Linked DNA regions of Homo sapiens: all the other regions are linked to region 4. The links are contacts of gene promoters, found by promoter capture Hi-C in blood cells and fetal thymus (Javierre and others, 2016). All regions are on one chromosome and are shown on one strand. The core of a region is centred on a gene start or on the middle of the fragment in contact, and the rest is flanking DNA. Distances in the headings are between cores, read along the strand shown. Region 1 overlaps RNF121 (ring finger protein 121). Region 2 overlaps NUMA1 (nuclear mitotic apparatus protein 1). Region 3 overlaps RNF121 (ring finger protein 121). Region 4 holds the start of NUMA1-AS1 (NUMA1 antisense RNA 1).

The links. Contacts are between HindIII fragments. The CHiCAGO score rates a contact against its expected background, and 5 or more counts as called.
Region 1: a contact is called between a fragment that was not itself captured here and the fragment with the promoter of NUMA1-AS1 in region 4, in 4 of 17 cell types (M0 macrophages, M2 macrophages, M1 macrophages and 1 more). The highest score is 8.6, in M0 macrophages.
Region 2: a contact is called between a fragment that was not itself captured here and the fragment with the promoter of NUMA1-AS1 in region 4, in 1 of 17 cell types (M1 macrophages). The highest score is 5.1, in M1 macrophages.
Region 3: a contact is called between a fragment that was not itself captured here and the fragment with the promoter of NUMA1-AS1 in region 4, in 2 of 17 cell types (M2 macrophages and M1 macrophages). The highest score is 5.3, in M2 macrophages.

What each region holds. Positions count from the first base shown.
Region 1 is chr11:71,974,587-71,977,286 of GRCh38, reverse strand. The region is part of intron 3 of RNF121 (ring finger protein 121); the gene reads right to left. Among named protein-coding and RNA genes, the nearest start is that of IL18BP, 23 kb to the left of the region's middle. The HindIII fragment of the contact is 1,936 bases long and covers 320-2,255 here.
Region 2 is chr11:72,058,295-72,060,994 of GRCh38, reverse strand. The region is part of intron 2 of NUMA1 (nuclear mitotic apparatus protein 1); the gene reads left to right. Among named protein-coding and RNA genes, the nearest start is that of MIR3165, 13 kb to the left of the region's middle. The HindIII fragment of the contact is 198 bases long and covers 1,211-1,408 here.
Region 3 is chr11:71,957,457-71,960,156 of GRCh38, reverse strand. All of the region lies in intron 2 of RNF121 (ring finger protein 121), which reads right to left. Among named protein-coding and RNA genes, the nearest start is that of RNF121, 30 kb to the right of the region's middle. The HindIII fragment of the contact is 1,489 bases long and covers 640-2,128 here.
Region 4 is chr11:72,012,912-72,015,611 of GRCh38, reverse strand. It overlaps NUMA1-AS1 (NUMA1 antisense RNA 1), which reads right to left and starts at 1,321. Exons shown (of 4, transcript NR_104178.2): 1 at 1-1,321. It overlaps NUMA1 (nuclear mitotic apparatus protein 1), which reads left to right. Exons shown (of 27, transcript NM_006185.4): 15 at 1-2,700. RefSeq lists an enhancer at 1-667. The HindIII fragment of the contact is 6,447 bases long and covers 1,316-2,700 here.

The sequences.
Region 1 (2,700 bases), core at 38-2,537, 38 kb after region 4:
GGTGCTTGGCACTTTTGACTTTCAGGATTCTCATCTTACCACCTCTGCATCCCCTCATGTTGTAAGCTAGGGATCACCCTCCCACCATACCTGGCTGAAAAGCAATATAGTGGATGAAATGAAACTATAAGCCCAAGTAGTAGAATAAAGGTAGAGATCCACAGCTAATAGAACAATCAGCTTGAAAATAGGCTGAGAAATAGACTGCAGTCAACTGGAGGTAGGTTTCTGGGACATGCTCCATGGCTCTGCTCAATATTTTCATAAATGATTTGGAAGAAAACACAAAGAACCTCCCAACTGTGGACAGCACAAAGCTTGTGGGGAGGGAAAGGGAGGCAGTGAACATGGAAAATAGAAGAAATAAGATCAAAATGAAAAAAGTTTATTTCTAGGGTTCTTTTAGCCCTAACATTCCATGAGCTAATAAGCTGAAATGAAGAATCAAAACCACAAAATGAAACCTAACTACCAAAGTATAGAATGGGGAAGGAATGGCTTAATAGTAGCTCACATGAAACAGGCTTAGGGGTTTCAGTTGACCACAAATTGCCAGGGAATATATGCCAACAGGGCTGCTGCCAACACAGCCAAGACAACCCTGCTTAACTAAGAATATACCCAGAATGGGCCAGGTGCCGTGGCTCACGCCTGTAACCCCAGCACTTTGGGAGGCCGAGGCAGGCAGATCACGAGGTCAAGAGATCGAGACCATACTGGCCAACCAACATGGTAAAACCCCGTCTCTACTAAAAATACAAAAATTAGCTGGGCATAGTGGCGCACACCTGCAGTCCCAGCTACTCGGGAAGCTGAGGCAGGAGAATCGCTTGAACCCGGGAGGCGGAGGTTGCCGTGAGCCGAGATTGTGCCACTGCACTCCAGCCCGGGCGACACAGCGAGACTCCATCTCAAAAAAAAAAAAAAAAAAAAAAAAAAAAGAATATACCCAGAATGGAGGGGGCAGCAGGTCTACTGTTCTCTGCTCTGTTAAAGTATCTCTGGGACCCTAGGATCAGGGCTTGGGGCCACACTATACAAAGAACACTAACAAATAAGCATGGCCATAAGACAGCAGGCCATAAGAGAGCAGCTAGGATTATAATAAAAGGCCTGGAAACCAAATCACATAAGGAACAACTGAAGACACCAGGATATTAAGCCTGGAGAAGACTACAAGAAGGCTTCAGATAAATGATATCTGAAGAGTCATCCAGAGGCCCAATAAACAGACATATTCAGTGTAGTTTCTATGACCTAGTGAGACACTACACATTACTGGACACTCTACAAGGCAGAAACACGGTTGGAGTTGTTTCCCTCCTATCACACCTACACATAGTAATCCTTACCACATAAGTCAGGCCACTCCAATACGAATATATTTGCTAGACAGCTCTTTCCTGATGCTGACCTGAAAAATCTGCCTTTGTGTCACTTCTGTCTCTGGGTCCAACTCTTATCTTTCAGAGGAGCACAAAGTAAACTTACTCCATGTTTCTTATGACTACTCTTCTAATACCTAGAACTATGTCTTCTTTCCCATCTTTTCCACTTCAAGCAAACGAGTCAGTCAAGCAGTCATTTAATAAACATTTACTGAGCACTTACTGGATGCCATGCTAATGACTGGGGAATTCAGAGATGAAAACCAAAATCTCCTGAAGAACACAAGTCTACTGAGGAGAAACAAATAACCACAATTAAGTGCTTTAATGGAGTAAGGGCTGGTGACCAAGAAAATACAGAGGAGAGGCACTCCACTCAAAGTGGAGAACCCACCCCCCTCCAAGGAAGGCTGCCTGAAGGAAGCATCCTTTGATCTCTGTCTTGATGGCCAATAGGTCCAGATAGAAAAAGGCATCATGATGGGTGTTCCAGGATGAGGGGACATGGTATACTTGAGAAAAGACAACTAGTATTTGAGGAAGGTGTGAGAAATGAGCCTAAAGAGGTAGATGAGACTCAAAGGAGGCTGATAAAGATACCACAGCTACAAGTTTTTGTTATATTCTGAAGATAGAAGTTTTTCCTTCTCATAGAAAGTGAATTACAACCCCTTACCACCTTAGTCAGAATTCTCTAATTCCACATTCTAGTAATCCTAATATCTTGGTCTAAGAAAAATCTACAGTACTTTAAAGATTTCCAGGTAGGAGATTTTGCCACTCACCGGTTCCAGGAGGGAAAGCAGTTCAGGAGGTAGAGATGTGAAGAGATACTATATTTGGTAGTAGACACAGATGATGAAAGCTTCTCCCTGGAGAACTTCAAAAATAGGATGGATACTTTTCCAGGCATAAACTTATCCCTTCCCCTAACATCCCTGAAGGAGCTAAAGAGTAATGTTAGACTCTGAATAGATGATGAAAACTGAGCTACGCAGAAGCCAAAAGGCAAGTCTGGTTTGGGCTAGGTTTCCAATCCAGATTTTCTGTCTCTTAAGCTGCCTACCAATCATCATTCACTGAGTTTGTGGGGAAATCTGGAGAGGCTGGGGAGGCAAGATGATGAAGAGACTTAAGAGGAGGTTGAGAAAGTACCTGAGATCCAAGGAAAGGACTTGGGCAAAAGTCGTTAAATAAGGAAACTCAAGAGGATTAAAAACTTCTGACTATGGCAGAAATTGACAAAAATTTCCTGAAGCCTTTGAGAGGAACCTACAGAAAGAACACTTAACCAAGAATCAGATTTTCATTT
Region 2 (2,700 bases), core at 60-2,559, 45 kb before region 4:
TTGGTTCAAGTGATCTCCTGCCTCAGCCTCCTGAGTAGCTGGGATTACAGGCACACGCCACCACGGCCAGCTAATTTTTGTATTTTTAGTAGAGATGGGGTTTCACCATGTTGGCCAGGACAGTCTCGATTCTCCTGACCTCGTGATCCGCCCGCCTCGGCCTCCCAAAATGCTGGGATTACAGGTGTGGGCTACCGTGCCTAGCCTAATTTTTTTTATTTTTTGTAGAGATGGGGTCTCGCTAAGCCTTCCTAAGTACTGGGATTGCAGGCATGAGCCACTGTGCCCAGACCTGAGCTTTTCTTTAGTTTTTAACTCTTGTTTTTTTTGTGTGTGTGCGTTTTGTTTTTTCGACATGGAGTCTCACTCTGTCTTCCAGGCTGGAATGTGGTGGCACAATGGCAGTTCACCACGGCCTTGGCCTCCCAGGCTCAAGCAGTCCTCCCACCTCAGCCTCCTGAGTATCTGGGATTACAGGTGCATGCCACCACAACTGGCTATTTTTCTAATTTTTGTAGAGATGGAATCTCGCCATGTTGCCCAGGTTGGTCTCGAACTCCTGGGCTCAAACAGCAAGCAGTCCACCACCTTCAGCCTCCCAAAGCACTGGGATTACAGGTGTGAGTCACTGTGCTTAGGCAAGTTATTGTTTCTGTTTAGACCCCAGTAGTAAATATTTTAGGCTTTGCAGACCATGTGGTTGTAACTACTCACCTCTGCCATTGGAGAACAAAAGCAGCCATAGACAATACTTAAATGAATGGGCGTGGCTACGTTTTAGTAAAACCTGATTTACAAAATATGGGCTGCTAACTTATAGGCCATAGTTTGCTGGCTGCTGGTAGGGGGAATTACACTTGACAGAAAGAGGCCTAGTTTTGATGGGAAATTGTTAAAAAAACAGCTTTGATGTCTGGACTTACTGGTTGTGTCACTCTAGCATCTCTGAACCCTCATGTTTAAAATCAAAATGGTAATACCTTTCATAAGAAATAAGAATGAACAGTTGCATATGTGAGGAGATGTTTAACTTTTCTGGAAATAAGATATAAATTAAAACAATAATATATTCTATCTTATATATTGATAAAATATATTGGTAGAAGGGTGTAGATGGGAATTTTTATCCTCTGTTGGTGAGACTATAAACTAGTACACAGTTTTAGATGGTAATTTGGGAATATCTGTTGACATTTAAAATACACAAGCTTTTCAACCCATTAATTCTAATTATTGGTATATATCCTAGAGAAATATTAGCTTGTGTGTAAAATTAGAGATGTGCTGCCAGTGTTATCAATACAGCATTCTTTGACATGCAAAACACTGTGAACAACCTAAATGTCCAGATGTAGCAAAATGGGAAAATAAAGTTGTGGCACATTCTTACATAGGATTTTTTCAAGCTTTTAAAAGTTTAAGGAATTGCCAGCCATGATAGCTCACACCTGTAATCCCAGCACTTTGGGAGGACAAGGTGGGCGGATTGTTTGAGCCTAGGAGTTTGAGAACAGTTTGGGCAACATGGTGAAATCCCATCTCTACAAATAAATTAGCTGGGTATGGTGGTGCGCACCTTTAGTCCCAGCTACCAGGAGGCTGAGGTGGGAGGATCACCTGAGCCCAGGTGGTTGAGGTTGCAGTGAGCCATGATGGTGCCACTGCACTCCAGCCTGGGTGACAGAGTGAGACTTTGTCTCAAAAAAAATTAATTAAAAATGTGAGGAATCTGTTTTTTGCTGGTATGGAAACATGTCAAATAAATTTTTACATGAAAAGGGCAAGTTGCAGAACATATTATATGGTATGATTACAGATATGTAGACCAAACACACATACCTGTATGTGAATATATACCTGTATGTGTACATGCTTAGGAAAAATCCAAAAGGTTGTACAACAGACTTCTAACAGTGGTCACTTCTGAGCTGGGGAGTGTCACTGGCAAATGTGGGTTGAGGCTTAATGAAGAGGGAGTTTTACATTTTACTCTAGATACCTCCGTATTATATTATTTCACAGTGATAATGTATTCCTTCTCCTTTCCAATTGTTTGGAGAGCTCCTGGGCCTGTCTGCACTTGCCAGGATTAGGAGTGTGACAAGGTAGCTAGCTGTGCTCACATCAGTTGAGTTGGAAGCAGCTGCTGAGACCAGAACAGGGAGCACATGTAAGGGGAGGAGGGGGATAGCATGTGCAAGTGACTGAGAGAGGCAGCCAAGACAGGCCATTTCCAATTTACCAACAGTAACTATCACATGTCTTGTCTTGACATTCTCCAAGTTACTTTGCTCTCTGTCATCACACTGGACCCTGAGGATGATTCTCTGAGCAAGGGAGGTAGGGATGATGATGAGACCAGGAGTAATCAAAACATGGGACAACAAGGAAAGTATGTGTGTAGAAATAGTTTTTTTTCTTTAACTTGAAATACGTCAAGGATACTCATTACAGCATTGTTTGAAATGGTAACACTGAAAATAGCCATTCCCTCAATAGAAAAATATGTGAACACGTTATGGATATCCCTTATATGGACTTTTATGTAGCTTTTTAAAAGTATGAGTTAGAATTTTAGTTATTGATGCTTGGGGAGATGTTGATAAATTGTTAGATGAGATAAGTTGCAGAGCAATGTGTAAAGTTTAAACCTAGTTTTCTAAAAACAGAGAACAACAAAACCCTTTCCAATATATTTGT
Region 3 (2,700 bases), core at 135-2,634, 56 kb after region 4:
TCCACAGGTAAACAGCCTCCTCAAAGGCTCAAGGAAGTTTAGTAACTAGAGAGTACAGCTGGAAACTTTTTATTAATCTAAGGCTGGCATTCGCTGGTCTTAAAGACTGGCAGCAAGTGATTCCCTTGGCTAATACTGGCTAAAAACTTGTTCTAAGAACAGTCACTCCTACCACTCTGGGTCACAGTCATCCAAAGGAGAGGAATGAGAAAGGAATTAGAGGCCGGGCGCGGTGGCTCACACCTGTAATCCCAGCACTTTGAGAGGCTGAGGCCGGAGGATCACGTGAGGTCAGGAGTTAACGATGAGCCTGGCCAACATGGCGAAACCCCGTCTCTACTAAAAATACAAAAATTAGCCGGGTGTGGTGGTGCATGCCTGTGATCCCAGCTACTCAGGAGGCTGAGGCAGGAGAATCACTTGAACCTGGGAGGTGGAGGTTGCAGTCAGCCAAGATCGCAACACTGCACTCCGTCCTGGGCGACAGAATGAGATTCCATCTCAAAAAAAAAAAAAAAAGAAGAAGAGAGAGAGAAGAGAAGGAATTAGAGAGAAAATCAAATACATCAGAATGTGTGGGAAAGGGCAAATTTAAATAAATAATAAAATCAAATACAAATGTAACTTGAGTCATAAGCTTTTATACAATTCCCATTACACCAGGGTATTTAGGAGGGAGGAAAAGGACAACATAAATAGTGTCTTCATGGAATTTCCATGGGCAATTAAACATTAACAGCAAAAATAACCCAGAAGGATGAATTATAAACAATAAAGCAAATATAACAAAAAGTGTAGAACCCAGGTGGTAAGTATAAAGGTGTTCACTGTACAATTCTTTCAACTTTTCTATGTGTTTAAAGTTTTTCATAACAAAATGTAAGGGGGGAAAACTTGGTGGGCAGAGTGGGAAGCCAAATGCCAGTCAGTAAGCCTCAGCACCTAAGGGTTCATCTGACATAAAACTTTACCCTGGGTGGGAGAATCTGACAGAAAGAGAATAGGATTGGGAGTTCGAAACTTAGATTCAGACCCACCTATATGGCCATGGCCAATTAACCTCACATCTGTATATCACAATTTCTTCATCTGTCAAAAGGAGTCCATATTTTTTCTGCCTGACTCAAGAGTTGTTGTGAGAATAGGCTAAGAGGGTAGAGCACACTTAAAAACACCTAAGGGCTATGAGGAGTTATAAAGATAGCAAGAGATAAGTTTCTTGTTCTCAGACAACATATCAGTGAACGGATGTGCACAAAATGAAGTCAAAGAATGATCTAGAAAAGACCAGAGAAGTCATCCAGTTCAAGTTCCCACCCAATGCAAAAATCATTTTTGCAATCTTTGCTTGAATACTTCCACTGGCTGAGAACACATGCCTTTTAAGGTAATCTATTTTAGAACCAGCAGTGTCTGGCACATTGTAGGTACATATACATATATTATTTTTTTGGAGAGAGTCTCGCTCTGTCATCCAGGCTAGATGAACTGCAGCCTCGAACTGCTGGGCTCAAGGGATCCTCCTACCTTGGCCTCCCAAAGTGCTGGGATTACAGGTGGGAGCTACCACACCTGGGCAGGTACTAATATTTGCTTATAAATGAATAAAATCCCAATGTTTTAGGGACAGAAAGCTCATTACCTCTCAATATACCTTGACTATTAAAGACAGTTCTGACAATGAGACAAAAAAAAAATCTATCTTCTTATAGCTTCAGTCCATTAGACCTAATCCGATACTCCATAACAACAAAGGACATATTGACTCTTCTTTCCCAATGCCACCCCTTCAAAGATTTATCATGATGTTATTCAAACAAAACAAAACCATCCTGTTCCTACCACTATTTTCCTGTGCCCTTTGAGGCTAACAGTTCTAGATCTTTTAACCACTGTTCATATAACATGATATGAAGACTATTAATCCAGGTTGCCTTCTTCTACACATGATCCAGTTAAAGATCTTTTTAATATGCCATGCTTAGAACAAAATATTTGTGACCTCAGCAGAGCAGACCACAGTGGCACTATCACCTCTCTTACAGCAGACAGCATATTTCTACGAACATCTTTTAAATTATTCAGAATATTTTGGTAGCTGAGGTACACAACTGGTTCATACTAAGCTTAAAATCACCTAAAATCACACTGGGTTTGTCATGTGAACAGGTATTTTTGCCATTCTATGTTTTTATAGTCAATAGTTTTAATCTAAATAAAATCAATAGGTTTTTTCTCACTATTAAATTCTAAGGTTGATATCACCTCATTGGTCAGTCACCTTGTGAAGTTCGTGGGGCAGGCACTCTGAAACCCTTTTACTGATGAGCAATCATCATAAGATATATGATGGCTCATTCTATTTACAAAACAAGTTAGTTGCAGAGTTGAGAACAGAAGATACATCTCCCATTTTCTTAACCAGAGCTCCCCATCCTGTATCATGGATAATAATGATGATGTTAATGATAATCATCTTCAAAGCAGTTAACACTTACTGTAAGCTTACCACATGCCAGGCACTCTTCTAAGATTTTCACATATATTAATCCTCACAACTCTATGAGGTATAGATATTGTTATGATCCTCATTTTACAAATGGGGCAAAGTAAGGTTGTGAGAAGTTAAGTAACTTGCTCAAAAATCACACAGCTAGTAAATGGTAGAAATGGTATTGAAACCCAGATAGATGATTTGGT
Region 4 (2,700 bases), core at 72-2,571:
GGGACAGTGCCCAGACCTCAGTGACACAGGCCCAGCGGGAGAAGGCAGAGCTGAGCCGGAAGGTGGAGGAACTCCAGGCCTGTGTTGAGACAGCCCGCCAGGAACAGCATGAGGCCCAGGCCCAGGTTGCAGAGCTAGAGTTGCAGCTGCGGTCTGAGCAGCAAAAAGCAACTGAGAAAGAAAGGGTGGCCCAGGAGAAGGACCAGCTCCAGGAGCAGCTCCAGGCCCTCAAAGAGTCCTTGAAGGTCACCAAGGGCAGCCTTGAAGAGGAGAAGCGCAGGGCTGCAGATGCCCTGGAAGAGCAGCAGCGTTGTATCTCTGAGCTGAAGGCAGAGACCCGAAGCCTGGTGGAGCAGCATAAGCGGGAACGAAAGGAGCTGGAAGAAGAGAGGGCTGGGCGCAAGGGGCTGGAGGCTCGATTACAGCAGCTTGGGGAGGCCCATCAGGCTGAGACTGAAGTCCTGCGGCGGGAGCTGGCAGAGGCCATGGCTGCCCAGCACACAGCTGAGAGTGAGTGTGAGCAGCTCGTCAAAGAAGTAGCTGCCTGGCGTGAGCGGTATGAGGATAGCCAGCAAGAGGAGGCACAGTATGGCGCCATGTTCCAGGAACAGCTGATGACTTTGAAGGAGGAATGTGAGAAGGCCCGCCAGGAGCTGCAGGAGGCAAAGGAGAAGGTGGCAGGCATAGAATCCCACAGCGAGCTCCAGATAAGCCGGCAGCAGAACGAACTAGCTGAGCTCCATGCCAACCTGGCCAGAGCACTCCAGCAGGTCCAAGAGAAGGAAGTCAGGGCCCAGAAGCTTGCAGATGACCTCTCCACTCTGCAGGAAAAGATGGCTGCCACCAGCAAAGAGGTGGCCCGCTTGGAGACCTTGGTGCGCAAGGCAGGTGAGCAGCAGGAAACAGCCTCCCGGGAGTTAGTCAAGGAGCCTGCGAGGGCAGGAGACAGACAGCCCGAGTGGCTGGAAGAGCAACAGGGACGCCAGTTCTGCAGCACACAGGCAGCGCTGCAGGCTATGGAGCGGGAGGCAGAGCAGATGGGCAATGAGCTGGAACGGCTGCGGGCCGCGCTGATGGAGAGCCAGGGGCAGCAGCAGGAGGAGCGTGGGCAGCAGGAAAGGGAGGTGGCGCGGCTGACCCAGGAGCGGGGCCGTGCCCAGGCTGACCTTGCCCTGGAGAAGGCGGCCAGAGCAGAGCTTGAGATGCGGCTGCAGAACGCCCTCAACGAGCAGCGTGTGGAGTTCGCTACCCTGCAAGAGGCACTGGCTCATGCCCTGACGGAAAAGGAAGGCAAGGACCAGGAGTTGGCCAAGCTTCGTGGTCTGGAGGCAGCCCAGATAAAAGAGCTGGAGGAACTTCGGCAAACCGTGAAGCAACTGAAGGAACAGCTGGCTAAGAAAGAAAAGGAGCACGCATCTGGCTCAGGAGCCCAATCTGAGGCTGCTGGCAGGACAGAGCCAACAGGCCCCAAGCTGGAGGCACTGCGGGCAGAGGTGAGCAAGCTGGAACAGCAATGCCAGAAGCAGCAGGAGCAGGCTGACAGCCTGGAACGCAGCCTCGAGGCTGAGCGGGCCTCCCGGGCTGAGCGGGACAGTGCTCTGGAGACTCTGCAGGGCCAGTTAGAGGAGAAGGCCCAGGAGCTAGGGCACAGTCAGAGTGCCTTAGCCTCGGCCCAACGGGAGTTGGCTGCCTTCCGCACCAAGGTACAAGACCACAGCAAGGCTGAAGATGAGTGGAAGGCCCAGGTGGCCCGGGGCCGGCAAGAGGCTGAGAGGAAAAATAGCCTCATCAGCAGCTTGGAGGAGGAGGTGTCCATCCTGAATCGCCAGGTCCTGGAGAAGGAGGGGGAGAGCAAGGAGTTGAAGCGGCTGGTGATGGCCGAGTCAGAGAAGAGCCAGAAGCTGGAGGAGAGGCTGCGCCTGCTGCAGGCAGAGACAGCCAGCAACAGTGCCAGAGCTGCAGAACGCAGCTCTGCTCTGCGGGAGGAGGTGCAGAGCCTCCGGGAGGAGGCTGAGAAACAGCGGGTGGCTTCAGAGAACCTGCGGCAGGAGCTGACCTCACAGGCTGAGCGTGCGGAGGAGCTGGGCCAAGAATTGAAGGCGTGGCAGGAGAAGTTCTTCCAGAAAGAGCAGGCCCTCTCCACCCTGCAGCTCGAGCACACCAGCACACAGGCCCTGGTGAGTGAGCTGCTGCCAGCTAAGCACCTCTGCCAGCAGCTGCAGGCCGAGCAGGCCGCTGCCGAGAAACGCCACCGTGAGGAGCTGGAGCAGAGCAAGCAGGCCGCTGGGGGACTGCGGGCAGAGCTGCTGCGGGCCCAGCGGGAGCTTGGGGAGCTGATTCCTCTGCGGCAGAAGGTGGCAGAGCAGGAGCGAACAGCTCAGCAGCTGCGGGCAGAGAAGGCCAGCTATGCAGAGCAGCTGAGCATGCTGAAGAAGGCGCATGGCCTGCTGGCAGAGGAGAACCGGGGGCTGGGTGAGCGGGCCAACCTTGGCCGGCAGTTTCTGGAAGTGGAGTTGGACCAGGCCCGGGAGAAGTATGTCCAAGAGTTGGCAGCCGTACGTGCTGATGCTGAGACCCGTCTGGCTGAGGTGCAGCGAGAAGCACAGAGCACTGCCCGGGAGCTGGAGGTGATGACTGCCAAGTATGAGGGTGCCAAGGTCAAGGTCCTGGAGGAGAGGCAGCGGTTCCAGGAAGAGAGGC